Linked DNA regions of Homo sapiens: region 1 is linked to region 2. The links are contacts of gene promoters, found by promoter capture Hi-C in human tissues and cell types (Jung and others, 2019). All regions are on one chromosome and are shown on one strand. The core of a region is centred on a gene start or on the middle of the fragment in contact, and the rest is flanking DNA. Distances in the headings are between cores, read along the strand shown. Region 1 overlaps NEURL1 (neuralized E3 ubiquitin protein ligase 1). Region 2 holds the start of CALHM2 (calcium homeostasis modulator family member 2).

Evidence for each region. Contacts are between HindIII fragments. The study calls those that stand out against the background at their distance.
Region 1: a contact is called between a fragment that was not itself captured here and the fragment with the promoter of CALHM2 in region 2, in 2 of the 25 tissues and cell types used here (mesenchymal stem cells and mesendoderm cells).

The regions. Positions count from the first base shown.
Region 1 is chr10:103,523,817-103,528,200 of GRCh38, forward strand. The region is part of intron 1 of NEURL1 (neuralized E3 ubiquitin protein ligase 1); the gene reads left to right. Among named protein-coding and RNA genes, the nearest start is that of NEURL1-AS1, 8.6 kb to the left of the region's middle. RefSeq lists enhancers at 3,767-4,267, 4,268-4,384. The HindIII fragment of the contact is 4,400 bases long and covers 701-4,384 here.
Region 2 is chr10:103,451,120-103,455,758 of GRCh38, forward strand. It overlaps CALHM2 (calcium homeostasis modulator family member 2), which reads right to left and starts at 1,251. Exons shown (of 4, transcript NM_015916.5): 1 at 1,037-1,251; 2 at 1-166. It overlaps CALHM1 (calcium homeostasis modulator 1), which reads right to left. Exons shown (of 2, transcript NM_001001412.4): 2 at 2,121-4,628. The coding sequence ends at 4,143. It overlaps LOC124902494 (a long non-coding RNA gene), which reads left to right and starts at 1,324. Exons shown (of 2, transcript XR_007062275.1): 1 at 1,324-2,117. RefSeq lists enhancers at 1-293, 242-862, 863-1,484 and a silencer at 1,323-1,652. The HindIII fragment of the contact is 12,335 bases long and covers 1-3,809 here.

The DNA.
Region 1 (4,384 bases), core at 1,651-4,150, 74 kb after region 2:
TACCACATTGTCTTTATCCATTTACTTGTTGATCGACACTTAGGTTGATTTCATATCTTGGCTATTATGAAGAGTGCTGCAATAAACATGGGCGTGCAGCTCTTTGACATAATGATTTCCTTTCCTTTGGATATATACCTAGTAGAAGGATTGCTGGGTCATATGGCAGTTCTGTTTTTAGTTTTTCTGAGGAACCTTGATACTGTTTTCCATAATGGCTGTACTAATTTACATTCCCGCCTGCAGAAAGAGTTCCCCTTTCTCTGCCTCCTTGCCAGCATTTGTAATTTTTTGTTTATTTTGATAATGGCCACTATAACTGGGGTGCAATGATATTTCATTGTCATTTTGATTTGCATATCCCTGATGGTTAGTGATGTTGAACATTTAAAAATATATACTTGTTGGTTTTGTCTGCATTCTTTTGAGAGATATCTATTCAGCTCATCTGCCTGTTTTTTAATTGGAGGATTTTTGTTTGTTTTTTGCTGTTGAGTTGTTTGAGTCCCTTGTATATTCTGGATATTAACCCCTTGTCAGATGAATAGTTTGCAAATATTTTCTCCTATTCTGCAGGTGATCTCTTCATTCTCTTGATTATTTCCCTTGCTGTGCAGAAACATTTTAGTTTGATATAATTTCATTTGTCTACTTTTGCTTTTGTTGCCCGTGCTTTGAGGTTTTCTTTATAAAATCTTTGCCCAGACCAATGTCCTGAAGCATTTCTTCTATGTTTTCTTCTAGTAGTTTTATGGTTTTGGGTCTTACATTTAAGTCTTTAGCCAATTTTAAGTTGATTTTTATATATGGTGAGAGATACGGCTCTAGTTTCATTTTTCTGCATATGGATATCCAGTTTTCCTAGCATCATTTGTTGAAAAGACTGTTCCATCCCCAGTGAATGTTCTTGTCACCTTTATTGAAAATCAGTTTTGCTATAAATACATGGGTTTATGTCTGGATTTCCTATTCTGTTCCATTGGTCTATGTGTCTGTTTTTATGCCAGTGCCATGTTGTTTTGGTCTTTTTAATATATTTTGAGGTCTGGTAGTGTGATATGTCTAGCTTTGTCCTTTTTGCTCAGGATTGCTTTGGCTATATGGGGGGTGGGGTCCATAGAATTTTTAGGATTGTTTTTTCTATTTCTGTGAAGAATGTCTTTGGTATTTTGTTGTGAGTTGCATTGAATCTGTAGATTGCTTTGGGTGGTATGGTAATGTTCACAATATTAATTCTTTTAATCCATAAACATGGATGTCTTTCAGTTTTTTTATGTCCTCTTCAATTTTTTTCATCAGTGTTTAACAGTTCTTATTGTAGAGATCTTTCACTTCTTTGGTTGAATTTATTCCTAGATTTTTTTTTTGTAGTTATTGTAAATGGGATTGCTGTGTTTCTTTTTCTGCTAGTTTGTTGTTGGTGTATAGAAATGCTACTGATTTTTGTATGTTGATTTTGTATTCTGAAATTTTACTGAATTCATTTATTAGTTCTCAGAGTTTTTTTGGTGGAGTTTTTTTTCTTTCTTTCTTTCTTTTTTCTTTTTTTTTTTTTGAGACAGACTTTCACTCTGTTGCCCAGGCTGGAGTGCAGTGGCATCACCTCGGCCCACTACAACCTCCTCCTCCTGGGTTCAAGCCATTCTCCTGCCTCAGCAACCCAAGTAGCTGGGATTACAGGTGTGCGCTACAATGCTGGGCCACTTTTTGTATTTTTAGTAGATATGGAGTTTCACCATGTTGGCCAGGCTGGTCTCCAACTCTTGACCTCAAGTGATCCACCAGCCTCCTCCTCCCAAAGTGCTGGGATTACAGGTGTGAGCCATCGTGACTGTAAGTCTTTTGTTTTTCTATATATGATAGTTTATATGCAAATAGGGACAATCTGACTTCCTGTTGTCTAATATGGATGCTCTTTATTTTTTTCTCTTCCTTAATTGCTCTGGCTAGTACTTCCACTACTGTGGTGAATAAAAGTGGTAATAGTGGGCTTTCTTGTCTTGTTTTGGATCTTGGAGAAAAAGCTTTCAACTTATCCCCTTTCAGTATGATGTTGGCTATGATTTTGTGCTATGTGGCCTTTACTGTGTTGAGATATACTCCTTCTATACCTAACTTGTTGAGAGTTTTTATCATGAAGGGATGTTGAATTTTATCAAGTACTTTTTGTGCATCTATTGAGAGGAGCATATGGTTTTTGTCCTTCATTCTGTTGATGTGATATATTGTGTTTATTGACTTGTGTATGTTGTATCCCTGAGATAAATTCTGCTTGATCATGGTGAATCATCTTTTTGATGTGCTGCTAAATTTGGTTGACCAGTATTTTGTTGAGGATTTTTTGCTTCTATATTTACCAGAGATATTGGCCTGTAGCTTTCTTTTTTTTGTTGTGTACTTGTTTGGTTTTGGTATAGGGTAATGCTGGCCTCATTGAATAAGTTTAGAAGAATTCTTTCCCCCTTAATTTTCTGGAAGAGTTTGAGAAGAATTGGCATTAGTTTTTCTTCAGATGTTTGGTAGAATTCAGCAGCGAGGCCATCAGGTCCTGTGCTTTTCTTTGATGGAAGACTTATTATAGATTCAATATTGTTACTTGGAACTGGTCTGTTCTGGTTTTATATTTCTTCTTGGTTCAATCTTGGTAGATTTCATGTGTCCAGGAATTTCTCAATTTCTGCTAGGTTTTCTTTTCTTTTCTTTTCTTTTTTTTTTGAGACAGTCTCACTCTGTCACTCAGGCTGGAGTGCAGTGGCACGATGTCAGCTCACTGCAACCTCTGCCTCCTGGTTTCAAGTGATTCTCCGGCCTCAGCCTCCCAAGGAGCTGGGATTACAGGTGCGTACCACCATGCCCGGGTAATTTTTGTATTTTTAGTAGAGATGGGGTTTCACCATGTTGGTCAGGCTGGTCTTGAACTCCTGACGTCATGATCCACCTGCCTTGGCCTCCCAAGGTGCTGGGATTACAGGCATGAGCCACCACGCTGGCTGGTTTTCTTTTATTTTTCTGCATATGAATGCCAGGTTATAGCGACTAGGCTTTCTAATTTGTTTGTGTATAGTTGTTTGTAATAGTCTCTAATGATCCTTTGTATTTCTGTGGTATCATCTTTTTTTTTTTTTAAGTAAAAGCAAGTTTATTAGAGAAGTAAAGAAACAAAAGAATGGCTACTGCATAGACAGAGCAGCCCTGAGGGCTCCTGGTTGGCTATTTTTATGGTTATTTCTTATCATATGCTAAATTAGGGGTGGATTATTCGAGTTTTCCAGGAAAGGGGCAGACAATGCCTGGAACTGAGAGTTCCTCCTCCCTTTAGACCATATAGGGTAACTTAGGGATGTTGCCATGGCATTTGTAAACTGTTATGGCACTGGTGGGAGTGTCTTTTTAGTATGCTATTGGCACTTTCATTGCTATCTTGGTTTTGGTAGGTTTTGACTGGCTGGATTTTTTTATTGCACTTTTTTTCTTTTTTTTTTGGTTTTTTTTTTTTGAGGCAGAGTCTCGCTCTGTTGCCCAGGCTGGAGTGCCCTGACACAATCTTGGCTCACAGCAACCTCTACCTCCCAGGTTCAAGCGATTCTCCTGCTTCAGCCTTCCAAGTAGCTGGGATTACAGGCATGCACAACCATGCCAGGCTAATTTTTATATTTGTAGCAGAGATGGGGTTTCACCATGTTGGCCAGGCTGGTCTTGAACTCCTGACCTCAGGTGATCTGCCCACCTTGGCCTCCCAAAGTGCTGGGATTACAGGCATGAGTCACTGCACCTGGCCTATTGTATCTCGTTTCATCAGCAGGGTCTTCGTGACTTGTATCTTGTGATTCCCTATCTCATCCTGTGACTAAGAATGCCTAACCTCCTGGGAATGCAGCCCAGCATATCTCAGTCTCATTTTACCCAGGCCCTGTTGAAGATGGAGTGGCTCTGGTTTGAACACCTCTGACATATTTCTCCCTCCATTTTACAAGGGGACCCTTAATCCTATGGGTTGTAGAGGGATGAATATCTATCTTCTCTAACTTCTGCTGGCTGAATAGGGGTGATGATATTTCTATCTATTAGGGTCTCTTGTATTTAGAGTAGAGAGGAGCTCAGTCAGAAAACATTGGTATAAAGGCCGGGCACAATGGCTCACGCCTGTAATCCCAGCACTTTGGGAGGCCGAGGTGGACCAATCATCTCAGGTCAGGAGTTTGAGACCAGCCTGGCCAACATGGTGAAACCCTGTCACTAGTAAAAATACAAAAATTAGGCCAGGCACGTTGGCTCATGCCTGTAATCCCAGTACTTTGGGAGGCTGAGGTGGGTGGATCACCTGAGGTCAGGAATTTGAGACCAGCCTGGCCAACCTGGTGAAACCCCATCTCTACTAAAAATA
Region 2 (4,639 bases), core at 1-2,500:
CTCTTCCGCAGCCGTGACCCCTCTCCTATCCAGCAGCCTCCCAGCAGCTCCGCTCCACCCCGCCTGCCAGCAACAGGAAGCCCTGGTGAGACCAAAGGCTCAGCGGTGCCACCAGCTCATCCGGAGATTATTCTGCCTTGGTCTGGGCTGTAGCGACGCTGGCAACCTGCCGGGAAGTGGCCATGGCCTCGGGCAACAGCGAAGTTTAGCCCAACTCCCTTCCCAGCCTCCACCCACACAAGCCTGAGAGACAGGCCAGGGTGTGGCCCCATGTCCTCCCCCTCTGGAGGGTGAAAAACAAAACTCCCCAGGCCAGAGGAAGCCAGGGAGTGGAGGGATGGGGTGAGCGCCAAACACAGACCTAGCCCTGTTCCCTTCCATGCTTCATGGAGGGATCACCCCTTCTAGATCACCCCTTCTGTCCCTGCCAAGGAAGGCTGCCAGATGGGCTCAGGCAGAGCCATGTGGCCATGCAGACTCCAAGAAAAGGAGAAGCTGGAGGAGGAGGACCAGGAGGAACAACAGGAGGAGGAGGAGGAGGAGGAGGAGGAGGAGGAGTCTGATTCTTCCCCCACTTCACAGCCTGGAGCTTCCAGCCTAACTTCCTGGGAAAGGCAGTTTGCATCACTGCTGGGGAAGAATGGGTTAAAGTCAGCCCCCTTTGCCCCATCCTTTTCCCTTCTTGGCTTCTAGGCTCCTAATTAGCTCCCTGTGGAGGCCCTGGGTTCATAAACTGGCTCAAAGTGGGGTACAAGATACCTGCACAGGGTGGGTGGTGAGCAGAGGATGGGCCAGGCCATCTTCTGAGACCACTGCCCCCAGGCCAAGGATGGGTCACATCCAGACCCCCAGTGGGACCTCCTCCAACATCAGTGACGACAGGAGACTGGCGGCTCGGGGAGGGGCAGGACTGCTCCCTGTTCAACCGGGTGGAGGGAACCTCAGCTAGGGGCCTCTCTCCCTCTGGGCAGCGTGGGACAGGCCCCACCATGCTCCGCTGACACCTGGCACACCCCAGGGAGGGCCCCTTCCTTACCTGGGGCCAGCTGTGGGCACTTGTGGCCATGGCCTCCTCGGGGCCGGACTCTCCAAGTGGCCTCCAGGAGGGCGGTGCAGGGCAGCGGCGGCCTCCGCCGTTCCCTCCCGCTTTTCTTCTGCACGGGGGCCTGGGGCTGGTGGCGGCTTCAGACTAATCTAACTCCAGAAAAGAGAGAAGAAAACAGTGGGATGGAGTCTGCGCGCCAGTGAGTGGAAAAACAGCCTCCCGGCGCCACCAGGCAGAGGAGGGCGGGCCCCGAGGGCGGCGCGAGAGGAGAGGAGCCGAGAGGAAGTTGAGATGCCTGTTCTGCAGCTGCTGCGCGTCCCACCGACCCGCTGCTCGCCGTCCCTGGGCCGTGCTGGCCCTCCGCCCTCGGCCCAGACCCGGACCGGGCCATGCTCCACACCAATGGGACCAGTCGGGAGGGCCACGTGGGGATGTGGAGGCATTGGGGAGATCTGACCCAGACCTGCCCCCCATGACAGTTTCAAGAGCACCCCACGTACTTGACCCCCGCTGGGCAGAAGCTACCAAAGGAGACCCCGCGAGGGTCAAGGGAGGGTGTCGTCAGGCCCGCGCTGAGCCCTGCAGGATGCTCAGGGCCAGGGCCCCACCCTCTACTGGCCCTTCTCCCTCAGAGTTGTCCATTGACTGGACAAACCATCCCCAATGCTGACTCTTTGACCTATAGTCAGCTAACTCCCCGGGACCTGCTTCGGATCCCTGGAGGGCTGAGGATTGAATTCAGGAGCCTAGGGATTCTCCGGGTCCTGCAGGCAGAGCTCCAACTGGTGGGTGAAAGTTACAAGGAGGCAGGTTTCTGAAGGAAGCCCTGTGTAATAATCAGAGCTGCCCAGCCTGTATCTAAAAGTGGTCAAGATGCGGGCTGAAGCGTCACGGGTCAGGAATGCTGCACAGGAGAGTCTACGGACAGGCTAGATGACCCTTAGCATGGAGGGAGAGGACCCCCGACATCTGTCAGCTCTGCAGTGCTCGTGGTTCCGTCATGGTGGAGCTGCCGAGTGACCCGCTGGCCTCCCTGAGCTGGGCTTGACCATATGTACGAAGGAAAGAAAAGGTACCAAGTTCTGCTTGTTTATTTGTTTGTTTCAGATCCCAGCATGTGCTAAACACAGTCCCAGATCCTTCCCTAAAAGTTATCTTCCTCTATCCTTACCACAATCCTGAAAATCAGGTCTTTTTTAAAAAATAATTTTTTCATTTTAAAAAAATTATAAATCTTCTCTTTATTCTTCTTCTTCTTCTTATTATTATTATTACTTTACAGAGACAGAGTCTTGCTATGTTGCCCAGGCTGGTCTCCAACTCCCAGGCTCAAGTGATCCTCCCTCCTTGGCCTCCCAAGTGCTGGGATTACAGGCATGAGCCACTCCGCCTGGCCAAGCAGGTCTTCTAATATCCATTTTATAGACAGACACACTGAGGCTTAGAGTGGCTGGGTGACTGGCCACAAGTCCTGCAGTGCTGGTATTTGAACTCAGGTGTGCCTGACCCAAAGCTTTGCTCTTCATCACATTTGTACCTCCTGATACCTCCGGGCCTTCTCTTCCCACTGGAAGTGCTGCCACCCACCAACATACACCTTGTTTTTTGCTCATCCTAATCCTCCCTGACTTCAGGGCCCATACCAACTCCTACCTCCTGGAAGAGCCCTCCCAGCCCACCTTGGCCCACAAAGATCTGAGCAACTCCTCCCAAATAATTAAGAGGAGGGAAACTGGACCCCAGAAGTGGGAATAGAGGGAAGGATGGATAAAAAAGGATGGAATCATGCCAAGATCAAAATGAATCCTTAGATGCTTGGGACTTATGTCTCAGAGCTGAGGGCGGTGCTGAGAAACCTATCTGTACCTCTGTTTCCTCCTCAACAAGATGGAAGCTCGAGTGTTTGTGTTGCTGTCTCATCCCTGCCCAGGGGAGGAGGAAGGAAGTCCTTAGGTTCAGAAATCAACAAATACATTAGCCACCCTGTGCTGGGTGCCTACTATGTGCCATGTGCTTTTACACACAGCAACCCCATGATGGCGGGCCGGGGGGGCCTCATCCTCATTGTATAGATGAAGAAACGAAGGCACAGGCAGTGATGCAGCTGGCCCAGGGACAGGGTTTGTGAGTGGTAGAGACACCATTTGACCCAGTTCTGTCTCACTCTGGAATCTGAGCTGCTTTCTCTTTACACTGCTCTCCTCCACCCTCATCCCACCTGGGCTAGAGCCTTGGAGCTCCTCTTAGCCTCTTAGAACTCCATCCCCAAGAGGTGGGGTCTTTGAGAAAAATGGAGAGACTTCAGCTTCTGTGTCTAACTTCTCAAGCCTTGGGGATGGTCTGATTTCCCCTGGAGACCTGGATGTGACGGGGGTATTAAGGTGGTTTTTCAAAGACCCCTCTACAGGAGGACTTTTGTGCTTGGTTTGTGCTAAATAAACATGCAGTCCACCTGGACAATTGTCACATGACCCCCATGGTGACCACACACTCTGACCTCTTCCATGTGAACCTAGCTTCTGACATCTTGTCTCATCGCCTGTCACCCCAGGTGTGTCACACCAGGTAGGCTGTGTGTCATGTCCTTATGGACCTGCCCCGGCACACCCAGTCTCACCTACGACACGCTTGCCCAAATCAGAGGGCTCCCACTTCATGAGACGCCTGATGATTCCCACTCCCCGAGCCCGGAGCATAAAGGAAGAGAGGTACTGAACAGCCACAGACGAGGGTGGACCCTGGGGCAGGGATGTCTGTTGAACCTGGGAGGAGACAGTGAACATCAGCCTGGGAAGGGCTGGGCAGAGGGGAGCCATTGGTCCCTGTACCTGCCATGACAGTTCCGACCCCTTTAGACTAATACTGCTCATGGGCCCACTGCCCTAGGGCCATCCAGGGCAGTGTCACACCTGAAGGCATCAGATCCCCTTCCAGCTCCAAATTTCCTGCCTCCAATGGGCAGGCGAGTGCTAGGGAGTGTGGATCTGCCTAGGGGAGTACTGCCCAGCACTGAAACCCTTCCTTTTTCCACCTGGTTTGGGGGTTGGAGGGGCTGTGGGCTCAGATCCCCGTTCCTGCCTCTTCAGCTGGCCACACCTCACACTTTGCTGAAGTAGGTGGCCACCTCCTTACGCGGAGGCCGGGGCCCACCCCCAGCCCAGCCGTTGCCCATCAGCGGTGGCTCCTCCTGGCCCAGCCGCAGAGGCGGTTTGCATTTGTGCCAGCTCGTGAGCAGCCTGTTCATGGTGCCTTGATCCGTGATGCCACGCAGCTTCTCCCTTTCCTCCTCCGCACCATCGGGGGTCGTGGGGGCAGCTGCGGAAGCAGGGGCCGTGGCCAGTGTCCCGTGGGTGTGACCCAGCTCCAGGTCATGGTTCATGGCCTCGAAGAACTGCTGGATGCAGACCTTGGCAAAGGCTTTGGCGTGCTCCGTGCACGTCTCGTCGAAGAGCTTGCGCTCGATGTCGATATAGTGGGACCAGTACTTGCTCTTGAGGAAGGCGGCCTGCGTGAAGCAGGGCCGCACAGAGCGCACCACGAATGCCAGCAGAGTGGTCAGCAGCACGAAGGACCAGCCCAGCGCCTGTGGGAAGA